Linked DNA regions of Homo sapiens: regions 2 and 3 are each linked to region 1. The links are contacts of gene promoters, found by promoter capture Hi-C in human tissues and cell types (Jung and others, 2019). All regions are on one chromosome and are shown on one strand. Each heading gives the region's core, a stretch centred on a gene start or on the middle of the fragment in contact. The rest is flanking DNA. Distances are from core to core; before and after follow the strand shown. Region 1 holds the start of SLC7A14 (solute carrier family 7 member 14). Region 2 overlaps SLC7A14 (solute carrier family 7 member 14). Region 3 overlaps SLC7A14-AS1 (SLC7A14 antisense RNA 1).

Region 1 (3,326 bases), core at 439-2,938:
AAACAGCATCCCTAACTGCCTTTCAACACTTTACCGACAGGAAGTCTCACTGCTCAGGTATAGGAAGTAGAACGAGGAAGCTCCCGAAGTTAGCAAAACTGGATCCTGAAGTGACACCCGCTTCCTGCTCTTCCACTCAGGAAAGCCGGGAACCTTTTCCCAAGCGGAGTCCTGGGGAAGCAGAAAACCGGGAAAGGCAAAGCCCCTTCTTCTCCTGTTTCTCTAGGTCGCTTGCTTAGAACCCTTTAGGGTTCTAACGCAGTTTCTGCTCGCAGGGAATGTGGGCCCTGGCGGTATTAGCACCCAGCCTCTGAGAACTTTCAGCACCGCGGACAGCGCCATTCCCTGCACTCAGTCGGAGGAGGAGAGCTACCTTGCCCCCAGCGCTCTCCTAGACCCTATACCTAGGGGGAGGCAGGGTGACATCCTGCGGCCCTTGGGCAATTCGGGCCAGTGACGTTCACCGACACTCAGGCGGGGATCCCTTCGCCAGAGCCAGTTCCTTTGAGTGTCTCCGCTCAAAATCTCAAGGAAACGAGCTTCACACAGGTGGGGGGATGAGGAGTGCCAGAACAGGAGCGAGCCCCGCTGCTCTAGCCTTCCTGCATCTCTTCTCGCCTTTGCTTTGCTCACTCTTCAATCGCAATATAAAATACTCATTTGGGGAGGGGGCAGGGTGACACAGGAGAGAGAAGGAGGGTGGGGGCTGCATCCCGCGTGGCCACGCAGCCCTAACCTGGCCCTCTTGGATTAGAGGGGAGCTGATGTGCTTTGGAATGGGAGAAGAGAGGAGACTGAGGGTTGAAGCAGTGCAGGAGAGCTCCCCTTGCTGGGGCTGCCGGCTCTGGGCAGGGAGCTTCCCTGGACACCGCTCCCGTCACGTCCTCTTCGCCGCTCCCGGGAGAGTCACCACTCTCCGGGGACAGACGCCCCTCGGGGCGCCACCATCCTGGTCGGGGTGCTGGGCTCGGCGGGAGTCCCTTTGAGGAGTTTGCTCCCAGGTAAAAGGGCAGACGTTGCTCCCGACCTCCCCGGAGTCTGCGGCCGGAAAAGCGTCTCCGTTTCATGGTCTCGGTCCGAGGCGGAGAACGGAGCTGCCCGTGCGGGGTGCGCGCCAAGGCGGGGGACAGGACGGGCCCGGCGTCTGCCGAGACCTAGGCTGCCCGCATTCCGCTCGCGGCTCCCCTTCTGCCTCCCGCTCTAGCGGCGCCGGAGCCGCGCTGGCCCCCGCCCCGCCCGGCAGCTCCCGCGAGTCAGAGCCCGGTGCCCCCAGACCGCGGGCAGTCGGGGCCTCATTCCGGGCCAGAGCAGGAAAGAGCCCGACCCACCTCCTCGGTTCTTCCAGGGAACCCCTTCTCGGAGGGCGCCCTGGGCCTCCGCGCCATATTCCTGGTCCCCCGCTCCCGGTGACTCCGGCTCCCTGGGTCATTCCGGGAGAGGCGGCCATCCCAGTTGCAGGGGTCCCGCTGGGGCGCGGGGGGCGCGGAGGGGGACAAACGGCAGCGAAGGGGGCCGTTCACTTACCGGGGTCGGGGCTGGAGGCGACGAGCTGGCTGCCAAGGCTGGTGGCTGGCAGTCCGCACTTACTGCGCGGAGCTGTCTCTCTAGCTGGGATGGGAAGTGGTGGTGGCGGCAAAGGAAGGCAGGAGGCAGCCGCTGCTGCTGAACAGCTCCTCAATTATTCAGATTGGGCCCCCACCCCCCGAACCCCTCCCCGTGCCTGCTCGTCCTCCCTCCAGCTCGCCTGTCTCCGCCTCCTTGGAGTCACATGGCCTGCCCAACCCCTTACATACTGGGCCCAAGCCTGGCACCAGACCACCTCCCACCTGGCCCCCCTGCCTTCCCCTCTGTCTGCCGCTCACAACTCCTCGCTGGCCTTCTGAGCCTCCAGTTGTGACCTCCAGTGTCTTATGTCAGGCTGCAGGGAGGTTGAGGGGGCCGTGGATGGGGGCAGTTCTTTGCCCTGGGAAAGCAGGGACCAGCAGGACTCTGCAATGTCTGTGCGTTGGGAAGGCATCTGCCGCAGCTCTGCCCCTGCTAGACTGGGCTGTCCAGACCTCCTTCCTGCCCTCTGGAAGCTTCCCTCATCCTCTGCGGAGCCTTCGTTGCTCTTAAACTTCCACATCCCTGAGCCCTACAGGAAAGAAAAAATGAGAGAGGTTGATTTCTCCTCTCCTCCTAAAGAAGACAAGACCCACCTCTGTCTTCAAAGCTTAAGTTTATCGTTGGGTTCACAACATCTTATGGGTGCAAAGATCATGGACTTGAGATTTGAAGAGCCATTAGGATTCCAATCTGTATGACCTTGGAGCATTTAACTTTCTAGCTTTTCTTCTCTCGTCTGTGAAATAACCACCTTGCAGTATTGTCATGAGATTGAGAAATCATCATGTTCTTAGAATTGCCTAGCCTAGAGTTGGACAGGTATTTGGAGCTCAATAAAGGAGAGTTCTTTTTCCCCCACCTTTGTTAAAATAAATTTCACAAGGCAAGAAGGATGTGATGTGTGCTAATACAGTGAAAGCATCTTTTAAACATGGAAGGAGGCATCTGTGAGGTCAGGCTAGACAAGTACCAGTCTAAACGGAGACAAGAGTGAGATAAGGTTTCTGTTTTGTATTAGCTCCTTTAAGATGAGTGTCCTAGAGCCAGGTTATGTCCCAAAAGGATTGGGACTAGATGGGACCAACCCAGGCATGCTTGGCCACATCACCGAATGAATTATTTAACAAGCATTGAGTAGACTGATTTGGATGAAAGTTATCTACATAAATTCTTGCACTTTGGCCCAAGCCCTCAAAACACATGGGAGGCAACAAAATGTAACTCTCCTATCCTTGGAAATGAATTCACTGGGCTTGTGTTTGGGGAGAATACTGGCTGACTGATACTCCTCTAGGGTGGAGCAGTTCAAATCTAGCTCTACTTTGTGGGTCTGCCCTGGGCTCTTCCCAGAAAGTTGCTTGATCATTGCCAGGACAGTCTTGGTTAGTCCACCTACCTCAAGCTTGTTACTGCCTTCGATGAGCATCTAAGCCTGACAATATCCCCATATTTTAAGCTTTGAGTAGTTCTGCAGGATATGTTAGACCTCCTGGGATCACCAAGAAGCTGTGAGACATTGTAGGAAAAGTGCAAAGTTAAAAAATCAGAAATTTGGAATCTCAGTGCAGGTTCTGCCAGCTACTTATCATATGATTTTTCACAAATCACTTAAATTGTCAGACTCTCATCTTCAGAATGGGAAAGGAATGTCTACCTGCCTTCTATATAAGATGGTTGTGATGTTTAGATGGGATAGCACATGAGAAGTCACTGTAAAAGGT
Region 2 (3,523 bases), core at 279-2,778, 78 kb before region 1:
AAGTACTTTTAAATAAGTGTACTTTCACCTGGAAGGATTAAATCTAGGGGTTATTCACACTTGAATGCCAATTACTCTACCCAGATAGACAGATTTTCCCATTAATATGTAACTTATCTTACTTTGACTATTCCCTAACCTACTTATCAGCTCATTTAACAGTTTCCCAAATAATTTTTGACTTTCTAATTTCCTTCCTTTATTCCACACACATTAAGTGGCTATGAAATGAGGAAGTGCAATGAATGACAGAGACACAAATGGTAAGACAGATTTCCTGACCTTGAAGCATCTATATTTCAATCAGGAAAGAGTTTAATAAACAGCTGATTCCATGTGGCCAGTATTTAATACTATTGAGCATTTATGAGGTGTTCTTGGAGCTCAGTGCGGTGAGCGTGGTTCTTAGGAGCACGGTTCTTTGGTTGCTGTGGAAGCCCGGAGACTGGGGGAGGGAGCCTTTTAAGCTACTTCTTGGAGGGTAAGCTGGGCTTTGCCAGTCAGAAAAAAAATAGAGGAAAGGGTGGTTTCAGGCAGGCGAAAAGGTGTAGCTGGGCAGACACATGCAGGCTACTTTCGAGATTGTGGAAGATGAGCCTGCAGAGGTGGACTGAGATCAAGTGATTGAGGGGGTGGGACCTTTTTAACAGACGAGTGGACTAGCTGAAAAGGACTGTACAGTTCATCTACTTGTATAGTTTAAAGCTCTCTCTTAGTTGTAGAACTCTATTTTCCACACACAGTCTTATTTGAGAGCCCAATACATAAATAGGTAAAAGCAGGTGGCTCCGTTTGAAGGGTGGGAGAACCGAGGCTGGTCTGCTCAAGGTCTCCTTCATCCCATACTTCCCCAAAGCCCCTCACCCTCCTCTGTGGACCCCCAGGGCTGTACTGAGCATGGGAATGGGAAGAGGTGTCAGTTGCTCATCAGAGTTGTTCTTTTATTTTATAGATGATGCAACTGAGCTCCAGATCTGAAGCTGCGTATTCAATTAATGGCAGAGTTTGGGCTAGACCTGAGGTCTCCTGATATCCAGCCTTAGCAGCTTTCTAATTCACTCATTCATTTATCCCATGCACTGGTAAGGGATCATCTCTATGTATCTATATCAGCTTTTAAGGATTCAAAGGTGAACAGGAAGAATACAGTCTCTTTTTTGTGGGCCTTATAGTATCATGGAGGAAACAGACCAGAAAACCAACCAACCAGAAAGACTGTCCAAAAGGAAAGAGGCTATCAAGAATTATGAGAGGGAGTGGAGGCAGGTGTCCAAGAAAACAATTTGCCAACTTTACAGTTTCATGCAGGCCTCTGGGATCAGCAACAACTGGAGCGTTGCTCAGAGGTTCGGTCAGGCTGCCTTGAGTGGGCCATAGGTTGCTGATATCAGGCCCTATTAGGTATTTTGCGCATACTGTGTCTTATACTTCACACTGGGTAGGCAGGAAGGTTGGGGTGGGCTGATCTAGCAAATGGATGAGGTCAGTGATTTCTCATCCATGAAGTCAATTCTTCCCAAGTGCCAACTATCTGCCATCTCCCAGACACAGGATGGAATCAGCCGTTGGGTTACGCTGGTGAAATTCACTACTTAGGCCCAAACATGTCTGTAAGAAAGTCCTCACCAAATACAGCATTTTGCTGAGTTGTTACTTATTTTCTTCTGATTTCCTTACTTTTCTTAAAACATCTCTGTTCCGTTTATGCAGCCGCAGCGGGGCTAAGGCATGCTGTATATGTAGCTATTGTTGCTAGTCCTGCCTAAATGTAGATGGGGAGTGGGGTATGAAGAGAAATCACAGGACCTCAGAGAGAAATGAAGTGTGAATTCTCTCAGAAACATTTGTTTTCTCTGTGACACTGAGCTCCATATGGTGGGTAATGCAGTGTCCCCATTATTGCTGTCTTGAGAAGCAGGTTGCTGGGTCCTGAGAAACATCTATCCAGGCCCTGTCATATGCGGCTGGACCCAGTGAACCTGCACTGATGTCCTCTTCCCGATGCCCTTGGTTAGCCACGAAAACTGTGGGTTTTTCAGGGAGTGATTGGTCAGGTGCTCTGTCCCTTCAGCCTCACTGCTACTGTCTCTTCTACTTGAGCAACCTCGGTCACTCCATCACCTGTCAGGGAAGCCCAGGCAATTTTTACAAAGGTGTCTGAAGGAAAAGCAATTTGTCTGGGAATGCCTATGTTTCTTTGTGTCTAAGAAGAGACTTATGATTTCTCTGCCCAAGCAGGCGCCAGGTGGACAGTAACCACCTGTGTTTAGGGGACAGGCAGCATCATTAATCAGGGGTGTATGACATCATGTTATTGAACCTGACAGGGCTCCAATTAAAGTTGGGTAGGGAATAGAGAACTCCCAAGTCTGCCAAACCACTGCCCCAAATATATCAACATATAAACAGGTAGGAAATAAGTTGTCCTTTGAGTCAGAGAAGTCACCCCCCAAAACAGGTCAAGGAAGTTTAATAATTTGTTGATTAAATGTAACCAACTGGCCGGGCACGGTGGCTCACACCTGTAATCCCAGCACTTTGGGAGGCCGAGGCAGGCAGATCACCTGAGGTCAGGAGTTCGAGACCAGCCTGACCAACATGGCAAAACCCCGTCTCTACTAAAAATACAAAAATTAGCCTGGTGTGGTGGTGCATGGTTGTAATCCCAGCACTTTGGGAGGCCAAGGTGGGTGGATCACCTGATGTCAGGAGTTCGAGACCAGCCTGACCAACATGGAGAAACCTTGTCTCTACGAAAAATACAAAATTAGCCGGGCGTGGTGGTGCATGCCCGTAATCCCAGCACTTTGGGAGGCCGAGGTGGGTGGATCACCTGAGGTCGGGAGTTCGAGACCAGCCTGACCAACATGGCAAAACCCTGTCTCTATTAAAAATACAAAATTAGCTGGGCGTGGTGATGCATGCCTGTAATTCCAGCTACTCAGGAGGCTAAGGCAGGAGAATCACTTGAACCCTGGAGGCAGAGGATGCAGTGAGCCAAGATCGCGCCACTGCTCTCCAGCCTGGACAAGAGCAAAACTCTGTCTCAAAAAAAAAAAAAAAAAAAAATGTAACCAATCTGCAAGGTGTGGTGACTCACGCCTGTAATCCCAGCACTTTGGGAGGCTGAGGCAGGCAGATCACCTGAGGTCAGGAGTTCGAGATCAGCCTGGCCAACGTGGTGAAACCCTGTCTCTACTAAAAATACAAAAATTAGCTGGGCGTGTTGGAGGGCACCTGTAATTCCAGCTGTTCGGGAGGCTGAGACAGCAGAATTGCTTGAACCTAGGAGGCGGAGGTTGCAGTGAGCCAAGATTGTGCCACTGCACTCCAGCCTCAGTGACAGAGCAAGACTCTGTCAAAAAAAAAAAAATAAATAAATAAATAAATAAATAAAGAATGTAACCAACCTATCTGTTTACTCTCTTCTCTAGATCTCCCTCTATGAAAATATTTTGGAGGTTATTGAAGGTACAGTCTCTATAATATGAGGAATTCAAGTATTATCTTGTCTGGTCATGCT
Region 3 (3,313 bases), core at 451-2,950, 93 kb after region 1:
TTAAGAACACAGGCTAAGGGAGAAGAAGGAGGAATGGAGGATGGAAGGTTGCCTATAGTGAAGGAGGCAAGTTTAAAGAAAAGTAAGAGTAGAGACACGGAGGGAAGGGGTTCGGGGGTTCTTACCCTCCAGAAAAGCGGGAAAGGGGTTGGGGCACAGAGATATGAGGTCGGGGCATGGAAATAAGGGATCAGGGCACAGAGATATAAGAGGTTGGGGCATGGAAATAAGGGATCAGGGTGCAGACATATAAGAGGTCAGGGCATGGAAATAAGGGATGGGGTGCAGAGATACGAGGTTGGGGTACTTGCCCCTCCCCCAGAAAAGCAGGACTTGCCACTAAGGGTGAAGGAGAAGGGGTTGGGGGTTTCTTGCCCCCCAGAAAGGTGGAGAAGGGGTAGAGACATGGAGAGAAGGGGTTGGGGTACTTGCCTCTCCCCCCAAAAAATGGGACTTGCCGCTAAGGGTGAAGGACCAAGGCAGGCATCCCTGCATGGTCTGACACCTCTGAAACATGGGTGAATAATCAGAGAGGCATCCCTGCAATGATTAAACACCAAGGGAAGGCTGCCTTCCCAGCCCATGACCGGCGCCGGAGTTTTGGGTTCGCAGATAAAATGTGTCTCCTTTGTCTCTACCAGAAAATGAAAGGAATTGAAATTAAGAGAAGGGAGAGACAGAAGAGTGGAAAGGAGAAAGTGGCTGACGGTTAGTGAGAGAGGTTGGAGAAGAGAGTAAGAAGAGGCCGCTTACCCGATTTAAAATTGGTGAGATGTTCCTTGGGCTGGTGGGTCTGAGGACCTGAGGTCGTAGGTGGATCTTTTACACAGAGCAAAGAGCAAGAGGACAGAGGATTGATCTCCCAAAGGAGGTCCCCTGATCTGAGTCACAGCACCAAATTTCATGCGTGTCCGTGTGAAGAGACCACCAAACAGGCTTTGTGTGAGCAACATGGCTGTTTATTTCACCTGGGTGCAGGCGGGCTGAGTCCAAAAAGAGAGTCAGTGAAAGGAGACAGGGGTGGGGCCGTTTTATAAGATTTGGGTAGGTAAAGGAAAATTACAGTCAAAGGGAGTTGTTCTCTGGTGGGCAGGAGTGGGGGGTCACAAGGTGTTCAGTAGGGGAGCTTTTGAGCCAGGATGAGCCAGGAGAAGGAATTTCACAAGACAATGTCATCAGTTAACGCAGGAACAGGCCATTTTCACTTCTTTTGTGGTGGAATGTCATCAGTTAAGGCAGGAACCGGCCATCTGGATGTATACGTGCAGGTCACAGAGGATATGATGGCTTAGCTTGGGCTCAGAGCCCTGACAGTTATTATTTAAATCAGCCATGTGTCAATCCACCAAGTTCTTACTGAGAGTAGCTTTCTCTATGTCCACTAAGTCCACTCAGATCAGGATCAGGGAAACTCGACAACAAGGGCCAGAAGGGACATTAGGGATATTCTCATCAGAGTCTGCATTGTATCGAGGAGCAAATGGATATTTAACTGGCAACAATGACTTGCCCAGGGTCACACAGCAGCAGAACAAGGGCTGAAACCCAAGTTTCTTGGCTAGAAGACTAGTCTGCCCCCATATTCAAGTTCTCTTTAGAAAATTCTCAAAATTCTAGAGCTTAGTCCCTTCTCCTGACCCTTCCAATGCCATGGCAATTCTAAGCGAGGAAAGCCCTGAATTAAAGTCAATAATGAAGATACCTGGGGACAAAGATGGCTTTCACTACTGTTTTTTCACTAGGTGTGAGCAGTTGGTAAGACAGCAATGTATCACATCCAGGACATCACCATTATTACAGGAATAGTTACCCCATGAGCAGCTCTTAAAGATAAGACATGTCTGTGAGAGGTGGGCTGCAGAAAACCCTTTGGGAAAATTTGCTCTGGAAATTCAGAGTTGAAGATTTGTCTGCAAGGACAGTCTAAGGAAATGGTGACAGGGTAAGGGGAAATCAGGGCCAAGAGAACAAGGCTACCACACTGGGAGTTTTCTCTACACCCAGACTGAGAAAAGGGCTTTTGATTTTGGCCCAAACATTGAACTGCCTCTTTGTCCATGGGGGAATTCTAGGAAGTGCATGAAAACACTACAGCAAGACTTTCAAACTTACCCACAGACACATTTTATCTGAGATGCCTGGTGGCTTTTAAAATTTATAAGCCACTACATAAAAGTTAAGAGATTCCACATGAAATAGGAAGATAAACAACATGGATCCCTCATTCCCATAAGGCATTGATAGAGGAGAGGGGAGCAGTGGTTGCCCCTTGAGACAGGGCTTGAGCTTTCCATGCCCCCAGGGGCCCTGCTGCTCACTCATGGCACTGGCTGGGCCCTATGGACCTGTGGCATGTGACCTGGGCTCTGAAGGAGCCTCCTGCCTGTCTTGCTTATAGTTGGCATCACATTCTTCCTCATATCGTAGATTCCTGCATGCTCAACTCATCTCCCAACAGGCCTCCAAGCCCAATAAACGCTCTTGAAATGAATGAATCAGTATTTCAAGGTGCTAACTTGAAGCCACAGTATAGGTTTATGAAATTTTTATTTTGTAAATTATTCAGGAGCTTGGTTTGCTACCAAATGTTGAAAAGAAGCTTTGCTAAATAAAATTATTCGTAAGATACTGAAACAGGAAAACTAAGGTAATCTCCTTCCTGGATTTCTTTTAGTAAGAGGCAGGTCTCTTTCAGGTTAAGTTCAAAATATTCCTGCTGAAGGTGGGAAATGGGCCCCTTTAGATGGTGAGAGCTCTATTTCAGCCTTAGGATCTCATCATTAGCTGTGATGCAGAGGAGAATTGGACGAACAGCAGCGTGGTGCTGAGGAAAGTGTGTGGATGTGGGAATCAGACGAATCCAGTGCTAATCCCTGGTTTCGTTTCTTCCCACCTTTTGTGACCTTGGGCTTGTGGTTTACCTCCTTGGGCCTCAGCAGAGGATTATAGACCTCTTTTAAATTGTTAAAAACAATTGTTTTCCTAAATAGTACCTGGACATGGTACAAAATTCAAAAGGTACAAAGTGAAAAGTTTCTTTCCCTCTAGTCACCAAAGTCACTCAGCTTCCCTCACAGGAGGCAGGCTATCTTACTAGGTTCTTATGCATCCTTCTGAAGATAGCCTATAAATATATAATATATGTGAATATAAAAATACATGTAAATTCATAAATGCTTACTCTTTATACAAACATTCACACTGTTCCATATCTTCTTTTTTCATTTAACATACCTTAAAGATCTTTCTACATCAGAAAAAGCGGCCTCATTTTTAATGGCTGCACAATATTCTATTGATGGATGTGCCATAA

The links. Contacts are between HindIII fragments. The study calls those that stand out against the background at their distance.
Region 2: a fragment that was not itself captured here is called in contact with the fragment with the promoter of SLC7A14 in region 1 in 2 of the 25 tissues and cell types used here (aorta and mesenchymal stem cells).
Region 3: a fragment that was not itself captured here is called in contact with the fragment with the promoter of SLC7A14 in region 1 in 2 of the 25 tissues and cell types used here (mesenchymal stem cells and pancreas).

What each region holds. Positions count from the first base shown.
Region 1 is chr3:170,584,387-170,587,712 of GRCh38, forward strand. SLC7A14 (solute carrier family 7 member 14) reads right to left here and starts at 1,689. Exons shown (of 8, transcript NM_020949.3): 1 at 1,525-1,689. All of the region lies in intron 2 of SLC7A14-AS1 (SLC7A14 antisense RNA 1), which reads left to right. RefSeq lists a silencer at 174-468. The HindIII fragment of the contact is 10,108 bases long and covers 1-2,609 here.
Region 2 is chr3:170,507,028-170,510,550 of GRCh38, forward strand. The region is part of intron 2 of SLC7A14 (solute carrier family 7 member 14); the gene reads right to left. All of the region lies in intron 2 of SLC7A14-AS1 (SLC7A14 antisense RNA 1), which reads left to right. Among named protein-coding and RNA genes, the nearest start is that of SLC7A14-AS1, 42 kb to the left of the region's middle. The HindIII fragment of the contact is 8,214 bases long and covers 1-3,523 here.
Region 3 is chr3:170,676,950-170,680,262 of GRCh38, forward strand. The region is part of intron 2 of SLC7A14-AS1 (SLC7A14 antisense RNA 1); the gene reads left to right. Among named protein-coding and RNA genes, the nearest start is that of SLC7A14, 93 kb to the left of the region's middle. RefSeq lists an enhancer at 928-1,429. The HindIII fragment of the contact is 4,059 bases long and covers 1-3,313 here.